Regions from separate parts of the Homo sapiens genome. Here regions 1 and 2 are each linked to region 3. Evidence: promoter capture Hi-C in 16 types of primary human blood cells and fetal thymus (Javierre and others, 2016). All regions are on one chromosome and are shown on one strand. Each heading gives the region's core, a stretch centred on a gene start or on the middle of the fragment in contact. The rest is flanking DNA. Distances are from core to core; before and after follow the strand shown. Region 1 has its middle 310 kb from the start of TFPI. Region 2 has its middle 250 kb from the start of TFPI. Region 3 holds the start of LINC01090 (long intergenic non-protein coding RNA 1090).

The links. The method cuts DNA at HindIII sites, captures the fragments that hold promoters and counts their contacts. A CHiCAGO score of 5 or more calls a contact.
Region 1: a contact is called between a fragment that was not itself captured here and the fragment with the promoter of LINC01090 in region 3, in 1 of 17 cell types (M1 macrophages). The highest score is 6.1, in M1 macrophages.
Region 2: a contact is called between a fragment that was not itself captured here and the fragment with the promoter of LINC01090 in region 3, in 1 of 17 cell types (M0 macrophages). The highest score is 5.3, in M0 macrophages.

Annotation. Positions count from the first base shown.
Region 1 is chr2:187,863,622-187,868,024 of GRCh38, forward strand. No RefSeq gene overlaps it. Among named protein-coding and RNA genes, the nearest start is that of TFPI, 310 kb to the left of the region's middle. The HindIII fragment of the contact is 1,140 bases long and covers 826-1,965 here.
Region 2 is chr2:187,798,724-187,803,503 of GRCh38, forward strand. No RefSeq gene overlaps it. Among named protein-coding and RNA genes, the nearest start is that of TFPI, 250 kb to the left of the region's middle. The HindIII fragment of the contact is 713 bases long and covers 1,054-1,766 here.
Region 3 is chr2:188,284,966-188,289,588 of GRCh38, forward strand. It overlaps LINC01090 (long intergenic non-protein coding RNA 1090), which reads right to left and starts at 2,726. Exons shown (of 3, transcript NR_126396.1): 1 at 2,502-2,726. The HindIII fragment of the contact is 11,348 bases long and covers 1-4,623 here.

The DNA of each region.
Region 1 (4,403 bases), core at 146-2,645, 420 kb before region 3:
GATGGTAAATATAAAAGCCATTCATTTTGATAAAAGGATAAGATCAAATTTAAAACAAAAGTATTTATATATTACATAATTATAATGCAATTTATATAATAAAGTAATATGGATTTCAAAATATAAATCTTAGGCAGTACTACAGGAAAATACAAATTACATTAATCAAATATGTGTACTTACAAAGCAGTGACCTCCTTTTCCTATCACTCACACTATCCCCTCAAAAAAAAGAAGGGTCAGGAGGTTTTTAAATTGCTTTCCTGAATATCACTGGGTATGGTGTTCTGATGAGGCATGTGCCTCTGCTCCTCACTCTGTAGTAAGTGGTTGATCATACTTCCAATCTTCTAAAAATAATAGTAGAAATATAATAATGCTAATAATTGTTAATATTTATAAACACTTGATAGTGCCAGGAGCTGTTCTAAGTACTTCACATATTAATAATTAATTAAATTTTAACATGAAGAGTAAGAGTTAGGTACTCTTATTCCTATTTTGTAGATTAAACCAAACCAAACCAAACATGAAACCTGTTTAGAAAACTTCATCGAATTATCACTCCACATTCTAGCCATTTCAAACTATTTGTATGCCCTGAAAGTATTATGCTTTTTTTCTGTTTTGTCCGTGAGCATTGCAAACAATATTCCCTGTACCTGCGTAAGAGAGGGAAAATGTCTTCTGTGTACCCTTCTATGTTCTTTGGCCTATGAATTAAATTGACATAAGACAGATTAACAGGAGAAAATTATTTTAATTACATGCGTTTGCACTGGAGTCCCACAAAACATGAGATTCAAAGAAGGGTCAGATGATTGAAGCTTATATGGCATCCTGAGCTACAGAAAGGAATTCCATTCCCATATATGTCAAAGATGTCTCTGCCTGAGAGCTTTTTCTCAACTCACACGCTGTGTAAGGCTAGAAGTGACCACGATTAAACCCTTAGTTGTTGCCACTCATTCATTTATAGAAATGAATTGAAGGATAAGTGTCTCAGGTTTTTTGAAATTTGGATTAGAAAACTTGGCCATCTACCAGGGGTTTTCCTTAAGACTGAACCTTAGTGCCTCAGGGATAACCTGGCTAGTTAAAGCACCTTTTATTAATTTTGTTTCCTCTCCTATCTTACTTCCCACTTCTTTACTGATTTTTCGTGCAGTTAATTTGCAATCAAATCCTTTTCTTTTCTTTTTTCTTTTTTTTTTTTTTAAGATGAAGTCTCACTCTGTCGCCAGGCTGGAGTGTAGTAGCACGATTTCGGCTCGCTGCAACCTCCAACTCCCTGGTTTAAGTGATTCTCCTGTCTCAGCCTCCCTAGTAGCTGGGATTACAGGCATGCACCGCCATGCCCAGCTAATTTTTGCATTTTTAGTAGAGACGGGGTTTCACCATGTTGGCCAGGATAGTCTCAATCTCCTGACCTCGTGATCCACCCGCCTCAGCCTCCCAGAGTGCTGGGTTACAGGCGTGAGCCACCACACCCGGCCCAAATCCTTTTCTTGAAGTATGCCTCTAGGGAACTCAGCTAAAGAGTGTTGGTGAAGGATGAGATTCTGGAGTTAGATCACTTGCTGTGCAAATGTCAACAAGGCCCTCCTTGCTGTTAGTAACTGGGTTAATAATTATCCACAGCATCCTATACAATGCAACTACTCATATGGATTAGATTAGAAAACCCAGAAGACTTGTAGAATTTAGCACTGGTTTATGTAATAGCTCTAGTGCTTAAAAGAATGCTAATTATGCATATTGTGATATTGTTTGGTGATTGTTAACACCATAGAAGCCCCAAAGAAGGAAAGTAACAAACATAGAATAGCAAACAAAATGACTTATAGTGTGACTTTCAGAAAGTGTCCTTGGTGGCACTTTAGGAGACCCTTATCAATTCTGGCTAGAGACAGGAGTGTGTTGAAAACTACAATCTTAATTGTAACAAGCGCACACCACAAAGGAAGCTTAATTTACAGCCATAGCAGGGCTTCTCCTGTGTTAAAGCCAAAGCTGTGTTAACAAATAAATGAGACCCTTAGGCCAGAATATTTGGGTAGAGATGCATGCGAGAGGTGTTTAAACCTCTAGGTAGCCCTAAACAGTCTAAGCAGGATGGGAAGATTTCACTCTCCTTGCTGGAGAAACACAGCCTCATACTATTATGAGAAGGACTCACCTGAAGTTAAGGCCCTGCCAAATGATTCTTGGCCTCCTTTAAGGTGTCTCCACCACTGCTCACAGCTTCTAGCCCAATAAGGAAATTCAAGTCTCACCACAGCTCAGGTAAAGTATAGTTCCTGCTATGGGAGGGAAATTATACACTAAAAGAATTCTAGGTCCTGGCTAATATGTACCAGCAGAAATCTGTAGAACATGCTAGGCAATTGATCTTGAGGATGTGGGACCAGAAAAGATGAAGTAAAGGCCGGTAGAAAATTGCTGACATAGGGCCACTCACTCATCATTTAGAATTGAATAATGCCTTAAGAATGCTGGAGATAGGTCTAATATGTTTCAATAATTATTCCTTGAAGCTTGGAAACACCAAGTAAATGAGGTAGATATGTCAGAACTGCTCCAGCAATTAAGAAAGCAGACAGAAGTATCAGAAAAGTGAGCATGTACAAACAGATTTATTCTACAAGACCAGAAAAATCACCAGCGGACAATGTTTGAGGGTCCTGCAGCTGGACACCCGGGAAGGAGCTGGTTTTGGTCTGGTTTGAGCATCATGGAGCTGGACACCCAGGGAAGGGCTGTGTTTTTCTGGTTTGAGGGTCATGGGGCTGGACAACCAGGGAGGAGCTGGTGTTTTTTTGGTTTAGGGGTCATGGAGCTGGAGATACGGTGCGGGGGTGGGGGCAGTGTTGTTCTAGTTTGAGGGTGGAGGAGCTGGAAATCCAGGGGTAGGAGTGATTTTCTAGTTTGAGGTCGTTTGAGGGTCAGCTGCACAACCCTCAACCTGGAGGGACACCAGCTCCCCCCTGGGTCTCCAGCTCCACAAACTTCTCACTGGAGAAACACTAGCTCCTCCCCGGATCTCCAGCTCCATGGCCCTCAGACTAGAGCCGCATCAGCTCCTCCTCAGGTCTCCAGCTCTACAACCCTCAAGCTGGAACAGTGTCAGCTCCTCTCCAGGTCTGCAGATCCACGACCTTCAAATGAAAACAACATCAGCTCCTCCTTGGATCTCCAGCTCCATGACCCTCAGACTTAAACAAGAGCAGCACCAGCTTCTCCCTGGGTCTCCAGCTCTATGACCTTCAGACTTAAACAAGAGCAGCACCAGCTTCTCCCTGGGTCTCCAGCTCCATGACCCTTGAAGTAGGAAAACATCAGCTCCTCCTTGTATCTCCAGCTCCATGACCCTCTGATCAGAAAAACATCAGCTCCTCCCCAGGTCTCCAGTTCCACGACCCTCGAACTAGGAAAACATCAGCTCCTCCCTGTGTCTCCAGCACCAAGACCCTCTGATCAGAAAAACATCGGCTCCTACCTGAGTCTCCAGATACAGGAGCCTCAAACTAGAAAAACATCAGCTCCTCCCAGGGTCTCCAGCTCCATGACCCTCAAACTAGAATAACATCAGCTCCTTCCCAGGTCTCCAGCTGCACGACCATCAAACTAGAACATCAGCTCCTCCCCAAGTCTTCAGCTGCATGACCCTCAAACTAGAACATCAGCTCCTCCCAAGGTGTCCAGCTGCATGACCGTCAAACTAGAACATCAGCTTGTCCCCGAGTCTTCAGATGCACAACTCTCAAACTAGAACACCAGCTCCTCTCCGGGTCTCCAGCTGCACGACCCTCACACTAGAAAGACGCCAGCTCCTCCGGGTTCTACAGCTGCATGACCCTCCAAGTAAAAAAAACACCTGTTCCTCACAGGGTCTACAGCTGAACGAACCTCAGACTAGAAAAACACCAGCTCCTCCCCAGGTCTCAACCTGCAAGACCCTCAAACTAGAACAACATAAGCTCCTCCCTGGGTTTCCAGCTCAAGGAACCTCAAACTAGAATAACGCTAGCTTCTCCCTGGGTGTCCAGCTCCACTACACTCTGATCAGAAAAACATCAGCTCCTACCTGAGTCTCCAGCTTCAGGACCCTCAAACTAGAACATCAGCTCCTCTCCGAGTCTCCAGCTGCACGACACTCAGACTAGAAAAACTCCAGCTCCTCCCAAGTTCTACAGCTACATGACTCTGAAACTAAAAAACACCCTCTCCTGCCTAGGGCTTCAGCTGAACTAACCTCAAACTAGAACACCACCAACTCCTCTCTGGGTATCCAGCTCCATGACCCTCAAACAAGAATAACACCAGCTCCCCCCTTGGTCTCCAGCTCCATGACCCTTAAAACAGAACAACATCATCTCCTCCCCGGGTCTCAAGCTGCATAA
Region 2 (4,780 bases), core at 160-2,659, 490 kb before region 3:
TCATCAAATGTAGAAAGTTTTCAGTCATTCTTGGAATATTTTTCTGCCCTTTTCTTTCTCTTCTTCATGGTTTTTCCATTATACCTTTGTTGGGGTACTTATTGGTGTCTTACTTTTCTCTGTGGCTCACTTCATTTATTCTTATTCTTTTTTCTCTATCTTCTTCCGATTACATAACCTGTATTGCTCTATCATCAAGTTTGCTGATTCTTTCCTTTGTCAACTCAAATCTACTGTTGAGCCAATTTAGTGAATATTTCATTTTGATTATTGCATTTTCAACTATAAAATTTTCATGCGGTTCTCCAAAAAACAATTTCTCTCTCTTTCTATTCATGGAACATTATTGCCATTTTTCTTTAATTTTTTTTAGACACGGTTTCTTAGTTCTTTGAATATATTTATAGTGGCTGATTTAAAGTCTGTGATAACTGCAGTATCTAGACCATTTCCAAATAAGTTTCTATTATCTGCTTTTTCTGTATATGGTTATGATTATCTCTGTTTCTGTGCATCTCAAAATTTTACGTTGCAAATGCAGCCTTTCAGATAATATATGGTAGCACCGCATGTTGCTGATCCCATTCACCCCAGGTTATGTTGTAGCTTTTTCATTGGCCATGTATTTATTTGCTTAATAATATTTAGTTGCCATTAAACATTTAAATAATATTTTATTTGTTTAATGGCTAGACTTTCTGCAGAGTCATTTCTCAGTACGACCATGTGACTTTTGATGTACTCGCTCAGAATTTTTCTTATTTTAATATTTCAGCCTGGTTATGTAGGTATTGTCCCTGGATTAGCATAGGTCATTTATTATTCAGGAGTTGTGCTTAATCCCTCTTCACCTGTTAGATTTTTAATCTTTATCATTGAACGTATTTGTGGTGTGGAGGCTGCTGTTAAGAGTCAAAGGAATCTGTTTTTGCCACGTCTTCACGCAAGTATGAGTAGCTTAGATTTTACTTCTCCATTCACTCCTGGAGGGCAACATCTTGGCCATACATACAATCTTCCAGGTTGCCATGGATACATGTAATGTCATTTTAAAGCTTAGTTTTCTAGGAGTTGCCCCTATGTCAAAATAGCTTTTTGTTTAGCTAGAAAATGGTCAGAGGTTGTGCTTAAGCTCTTGCGCCACTGAGACTTCTGCCCTTTGCTGATGCCCGTTGTTGTGGTTAAGGAATTCTTTCAAATATTCTTTACATTCTGCCCTGATTACTCCTGACAAGGTACAGTTTAGAGCATATAGACAGCCCTTCCAACCCTGTTGGCTGTCATCACAGGATAGACCTTCTTGGCTCACTCATTCTCTGCTTCTCTATGATAAAATTCTGATGCTCAGCAGTTTTGCTTATTAATACTTGTATCATGGAGTTATAGATATGTCTTCTTAATTGCCCTTCCCCAAAAACTCCATTGCTTTTAGCAGAATCCTTAGGCATGAAATCCTCCATAATTTATTACAAATAAAATTAGTTTTCTCATGTAGAGCTGTGGAGCTCTTCGCCCTTAGGTATGACCTCTCCAGCTTACCTCTCCCCATAGGTAGAACCTCTGCACTACTACACTAGAACTGGGCACAGGGACAGTAGCCTACATTTCCTGGAGTGACAGCTCTGCTTCGAGAGTGTAGGTTGGAAGGGGCTCTGGTCTTCTTGCCTTGCCTCTCCTGGTATGTAACCTATGCCCTATGAGTGAGCTTGTAGCTATTGTATAAGAGAACAGAATACAGTATTCTTGGTCTGTTGCATCTAGGGTAAAGCTTCACCCTTGTGATTAAAGGCTAGGTGAAGCAAGGGTCCTCTCAACCGCACCTGCCTGAAATACAACTTACATGGACTTAACATGGCTGAGGGTGGAATGAGAAATTCTTACAGCCTGTTCGCTCCACCTGCAAGTTGAAACCAAGGCCCCACCTGGAATCTGCAGGAGAGAGAGGACCGCATCTTCTTGGCTTCACCTTCCTATATTAGAGCTCCTGGAGTACTTTTTTTTCATAAGATGGAGCCTATGAGGGACGGGTGAGAGGTGGAGGTGGGGGTGAAGGTAGTTTGTGGTTCAAATGCCACAGATCCTTACTATCCTAGACAAATTTAGAAGATTTTCTTGAATAAATGTTACTCCTTTGTTCTCCATATGCCCACAAAAATTTTTCAGCTACCTCAGAGTAGCTTCTCCAGAAATACAGAGTTAACTCAAGGCAACGGCAACATGAGACACCTCAATTTGAGGGAAGCTTGTCCAAAATATTCCCCACCTCAGCTCTGAGCAAGTTGAATCTTTTCCCTGCAGCCTACTTGATTCTCAAAATGTCCCTGATTTGGCCAGTGGTTGCTTGCTTGAGCTGGCTCCTGTATCTTTTTGATGTGTCTCTCCCATTGTTTGAATATCTCTATTTTCAGGCACAAAAAAAACAATGTTTTATGTTCATGTGAATCAGGCATTTCTCCAAGGAGTTCTAATTCCTTTCTAAAGCAGTTTTAAGAGTATTAAATATAATCTCTAAATGTTGGGAGCGCTAATGGGATTTTCTTTCCATTCTTTCTTATTAAAATATTTTGGTAAAGAAATTTCCTATTGCCCACTCCAAATTTATCTGAGCCAAAAGGGGCTCAGATAAATTTATCTGAGTCTGACTACATATTATTTTCCCATTTAGCCTAGCCTTGTCATCATGCATTTTAACCAAGTCTTCACTAAAATAACTCATTAGCACCTTTTCTGTGATGTCAGTTTTCAAACCTGTAACAATATAATCTACTTCTTTCAAAAAGTTATCAAACTTAAAGAAAACTGAATCTGGAGTTTAAAAAATATAAGTTATATTTACTTCAGGGAAAAAATATCAAACTGTGTCTTGCAACTGCAGAAATTCAACCCATAACCCTATTTCATTTTCTATATTTTTCAGCTTTCTGAAAGTTGATCCATAAGTATAGTTACTTAAGTCATAACATCAGAAATAGACTTGGAATGAAAAAGAAATATGTCAATATGGTGTCTACATATTTTTCTTAAATATGAAAAAATAAAAGTCAAATTATTAAAATGAAGTGGTAGGTAACATATCACTTTTTTTAGTTTGTATAATGCAGGACTTTAAAAGCTATTTATTAAAAGAAATGAAATTACATTTTTATTGTTCTTCAAGCCTCTTCAAGGCCATTCTTTCAAACTAACTTTAGATACTCATTTATTCTACACTTGATTCATTACTGAATTTTATTCCAGTTCTTTGCCCTTGTGTTTGAGGTGGTCATCTCAGATGGTTAGCTTTTTTTCCTCATGAAACATTTTTCTTTATGTTGTAATGACTTCATATTTTCTATTATAAATTCTTTGGAAGTTAGCCCTAGTAAATAAAATTAAATCTAATTTTCTAAAATGTCTTTATAATTTGTACTCAGTTACACTTGATGGTAAGCAGTATTTATTGAACATACAATTCTAATGAAAATTGTCATAGTTATCTGTTCTCTGAAATTCTCTCTGGTAAAATTCTAATCTATCAAGTTTAAAGAAATTGATTTCTCTCATTTACTACCACATTGCTGAAGATTTAGTCATTGATTTTTTTCTCACAAATATAAAACCTAAAAAGAACATTATTTATTTACTTATTTATTTCTATTTATTTATTTATTTAATTTATTTATTTATTTTTGAGATGGAGTCTCACTCTGTCACCCAGGCTGGAGTGCAACGGTACGCGGTCTTGGCCCACTGCAACCTCCACCTCCCGGGTTCAAGCGATTCTCCTGCCTCAGCCTTCCGAGTAGCTGGGACTACAGGCCCGTACCACCACACCCAGATAAGTTTGTATTTTTAGCAGAGATGGGGTTTCACTATGTTGGCCAGGCTGGTCTCGAACTCCTGATCTGATGATCTGCCCGCCTCGACCTCCCAAAGTAGTGGGATTATAGGCGTGAGCTACCGTGCCTGGCCAAAAGAACATTTTTTAAAATCACCTTTTTGGATGCAGCAGAGGATAAACATATGACTATTTTAAAACAAATACTTAATAATTAAGTAAATCTAGATGATTCTTAGTATTTTAGCTAAAATTTTTTTACCGCTTTGTATTACTTGATTTGTTCATAATTTAAAAGGTTGAAATTACAAGAACGTGGCTTTAGAATGTCCAAGACATGAACTCAGTATTTACATACTATGCAGGTGATTCTGGGAAATCCTTTAGCATGATGGATCCTTTTTCCACTAAAAAATAGGATAGGCTGGGCGCGGTGGCTCACACCTGTAATCCCAGCACTTTGGGATGCAGAGGAGGGCGGATCACGAGGTCAAGAGATTGAGACCATCCTGGCCAACATGGTGAAACCCCTTCTCTACTAAAAATACAAAATTAGCCTGGAATGGAGGCACGCTACTGTAGTCCCAGCTACTCGGGAGGCTGAGGCAGGAGAATGGCTTGAACCCGGGAGGTGGAGGTTGCGGTGAGCCGAGATCGCGCCACTGTACTCCAGCCTGGCGATAGAGCGAGACTTCCGTCTCAAAAAAAAAAAAAAAAAAAAAGGATAATGACATCTACTTTCTAGAGTTGTATTAATTATATCTTTATGATAACATAATGTGTGTGAAGTGCACTGCCAATATATGATTATATATGTAGGTTATTTATTATTTTTTTGAGACAAGGTCTCGCTCTGTTGCCCAGGCTGGAGTTCAGTGGCGCGATCTCGGGTCACTGCAACCTCTGACTCCTGGATTCAAGGGATTCTGCCACCTCAGCATCCTCAGTAGTTGGGACTACAGG
Region 3 (4,623 bases), core at 1,476-3,975:
AAAATTTAATTTTTTTCAAGATTTATTATGCTCTTCACTTGTATAATGTACAGATTTCCAAACAGAACACTGCATTTTAGGTAGGGGTGTTCATTTAAAAGTCCTTAACAATTTATTTTTATGTGGAAAATGGATGATCTTCACCTGCACTCTCAGTATACGTGAAAGATTTGTATAACTTTGAAATTGCTTCTGGAGGGTTTCATTTTTGAAATTGAACAATAGTCTTCTGCAGTCACACCCTCTGAAAACCTGCCAATTTCCATTGAACTGATAGCACTTTATCCGTGTGTATTCTCAGATTGCTGAGCTAGAGAGACTGTTGATGCAGAACCAGCATGGCAAGTCTCTGTTCCAACAATTCTTGCCACAGACTGCCTTTTACAGAAAAGCCACTCTCAGAATTATTTTAGCCCTGTTATGGAAAAGATACTCAATGAGAGAACGTCTTTTGTTGTTCGGTTGTGATAGGCGCTTTGCATTTTAAAGCATGATGACATTTTCTCAAATCACATTATGTCAGGCCCAAGCGTATAGGTGCCTTGCTTAGCTTTGCTTTTTTGTTAAGCCCTATCAGCAAGCCTGAGTAAATTCTGATACAGGATTTTGAAGAGAGTTAATAAATTAGCATTCTAGTGAAAGACTGCAAATCATAATTTTCAAATAAAAAGTTTCCTTTGTCAAAAATCATTTTAGACAATTTATTTTTTACTCTATTAAGAAAATAAGACTGTAATTCTATTTGCAATGCAATGTCTTTGTTCTATTTTTGTATTTTAAGTATGTGAGACTTCAAATGAAAAAAATATCTTCTTATCGCAGCAGTTTTTCAAGCAAGTAAAACTGCTTCAAGCAAATTTTCTAGGCCTGAAAGCTCTGTGGCAGAAGACCATACCTCAGGAGTCTATTCCTGGACATTAGATTGGGCCTTTCCATGAAGCTGAGTGTTAGCTCCTGTCTTTTGGTCATGGCTGGACTCCATATAAGGTATTCATTCACTATCATCTAGAGTGCACATGAACTGGAACAAGAAGCAGAAATGTGACCCTTGATTAAGATCTGTGCTTTCTCTCATTACTCGTGTTAAGTAGGGCTCTTCTATTCCAAGTATTATTTATGTCCTGCAATTGTTGTAGAAAAATGGCCCTTTCACTCTTAGCAACAACATGGAACTTAACAAGTGGTAATTTAATAGATTGGAGAGTAAAAATATAATTTGAATGGGTGCAGAGTCAGGTCTTTTCAAGTTGAAAAAGCATCCTTTTTCAGGATCAGAAGAAAAAATTGAATAATGAAGTGAATTCAAGTAAATTGATACATGAGTTGAACACACTTCTAACAGAAGACTTTTGTGGGCAAAGGTAGGAAATAGGAAGTTGTGACAAGGAAACTTAACAGAATGGATCCAAAGTTCATTTGGAAAAATAACTTTGAGAGAATAGTGATGAAACCTTTGAAAGGGGGAGAAAATAATAAAGGAGAATTTGCCCCAGTAGATATTTTAAACAATGATAGTTTGAGATAATTAATAATGTTCTATTGCAGAAATACACTGACTATTAAATGGGAAAGGACTACCGCTAGCCCACATGATGCCCAATTCTTTCCAAGGAAGCTCTGCAGGTGCTTGGCTAGGAGCCGAAGATGCCTTTGTAGTTAGAAAAGATATCCCTTTCTTCTTGCTCGCAAGCTCCATTGGCTTGGCTGGCAAAAGAGCTTGGCTGGATTTTATTCTGCACTGGACCTTTTTTAGGTGTCTTACTGCATTTTGCATGCTGTTTGACCACACCTGGAAGTTCTGATTGAACAGACCCTGTTTTATATCTAAGTTAACATATGATAAAAATTACTGCTAAAATCACTGGACAAAGAATGGATCTATTCAATATGTGGTGTTGGACACCTAGGTCATTATTCTGGGGGAAACAAAAGCCCTATCTTTAGATTTCACATCAGAATAAATTGAAAAACGAAAACTACAAAATACTAGAAGAAAATATTGCTAATTAGTTTGGGTGAAATGTCATTATATTTTTTAAAAACTCAAGAAATCATAAACCGATTACATTTAAAGAAATTCTACATAGTTTTAAAATAGAACAAAATAATTTAATTATTTTAATTAAGTTAATAAGACAAATACCCGTTTTTTGGCTAGAGGTTAATATATTTACCTCATACAGAACCTTTAAAAATCAATAAGAAAAAGAAAAAATATATGAAACAATAGAGAAAAGAGAAAAATGTACAGAATATATAAATAGCCACCTCACAAAAGAAAATATAAACGGTTATTAACTTTATGAAAACTTATTCAGTTTTATTAACAGTGAAAGTAATAAAAATTAAAGCGATTGAGCTGCTAATTTTTCACTAAGATTATTTGAAAATTTAAGTGTTTGGAGAAAAAAAATTAAGGGCCAAGATGGAATAGTTTACATGATGTCATTTAGGTAAACGAAAAATGCATATGAAAATAAATATTTTGAAAGAATACTTACAAAAAAGTAGTAGTATGGGCCGGGCGCAGTGTCTCACGCCTGTAAGCCCAGCACTTTGGGAGGCCGAGGCGGGCGGATGACGAGGTCAGGAGATCAAGACCATTCTGGCTACGGTGAAACCCCGTCTCTACTAAAAATAAAAAATAAAATAAAATAAAAAAATTAGCCGGGAGTGGTGGCGCGGCGCCTGTAGTTCCAGCTACTCAGGAGGCTGAGGCAGGAAAATGGCGTGAACCCGGGAGGCGGAGCTTGCCGTGAGCCGAGATCGCGCCACTGCACTCCAGCCTGGGCGACAGAGGGAGACTCCGTCTCAAAAAAAAAAAAAAAAAAAAAAAAAAAAGGAGTAGTATGTACGTTATACTTCCACATGAAAAAAATGGAAAGAAAATTGTTAAGTGTCTGTGGGTGCTGGGTAATGCCTTTCCTCTACTCCTGGTTTCCATGCAAAAATATTTTACTGGGTCTTTACTTACTTGCCCTTGGAGAGATGTTATGACATTTGGTAGATAAACTTAGGAATAAACTTGGGAAGAATTGCTGGGCATGCCAGGCTCAACTACCTTTCTCTCTCTTTCATTCTTTGGAATAGAACTCAAAAAACAATTTAAATCCTTTTTCAAAGGCACTGTCTCCTTTCAGGTTAGAAGGAGGCCAGGAACTACGTTGACTGAGGCTGCTGTTTCAGTTCTTTGCTTTTGGATCTACCAATTCAAATCCGTTATCTGTCAATCATAGAGTAATATTTTGCTCTCATTTTTTTGGTCAATTTATTCCCCACCCAGGCATAAAGAAGGGATACTATTTATCCGGGTCTCTCAGAGGCCTCAACAAACCTTGGAGCATATAGAGAAAATGTGAGCAATAGGTACTTTTGGTGATGGGAATACAGGTGATATTTATTTCCCTTTTGCAGTTGCCCTCCTATTTTTTTTTCTTTTTTTGCAATGGTCATGTTTCATGTTCTTAATCAAGAAGATCAAAATAAAGCGATTCTTTCAGAATGACAGATAAAATGATAGAGGTTTGAAGGTAAATGTAACACAGTAACTTTGGAACCCAGAGCCCCTAGGAACTCATAGGATATTTGGCCACTGTTACACATGACAAACAGAAACATGACCCCCTTTCAAATCACATGACTGAAATTTGAATTTCAGTCTTGGTTTTCATTACAGTTTTTAAAAAGTTGTCAAATACTTTAAATGTTGGTTTTGCAGAAATATAGGGCTAAACAACCAGCATATTTTTTGTGTGCTTTTGCAATAATCAGAAATAAAATTGGTTTTCTTAAGGTAAGTAACAGGTCGTTTTTTTGTCTTAGCCAAAGTTCCCTTAGTTAGGGTAAGAGAAACTTAATTCTGGTTTGAGCAAGAAAATTAATTTAAAAATACTGGAGGCCAGGCGTGGTGGCTCACACCTGTAATCCCAGCACTTTGGCAGGCCGAGGCGGGTGGATCACGAGGTCAGGAGATTGAGACCATCCTGGCTAGCAGAGTGAAATCTTGTCTCTACTAAAAATACAAAAAAAAAAAAAAAAAAAAAAAAAAATAGCCGGGCATGGTGGCGGCCGCCTGTAGTCCCAGCTACTCGGGCGGCTGAGGAAGGAGAACGGTGTGAACACGGAGGCGGAGCTTGCAGTGAGCCAAGATCGCACCACTGCACTCCAGCCTGGGCGACAAAGCAAGACTCCGCCTCAAAAAAAAAAAATAAATAAATAAATAAAAATAAAAATTACTGGAAAGCTGCTGAGTTTCTATCAGGGTCTATATGAACCTATGATGAATGTGAAGAACTTTCAAATGGAAATCTGAGGTATTTGCAGTAGGTAAAATTAGGCGTATTTGTCATCGTAGTGCCCTGCTAGGCTTCTGCAACCCTTTTCTTTGGCATCTCCCTTCTTCACTTCCTGGGGCATGCTATAAATTTGTTTTAAAATCTTGTTCCATTTGGTTCTATTGTTTTTAAAAACTTGGTTCTGACACTCTTGAGATTTTTATACCTCTAAGCCATTTCACAAAGAAGATCATATCAAAAGTCAGGTTATAAAAATTACAAAGCAATAGCAAGTTTAAAGACTTTAAACAGTGGGAGAAAATATAAAAGTGAGTAATCTTTAGCACTG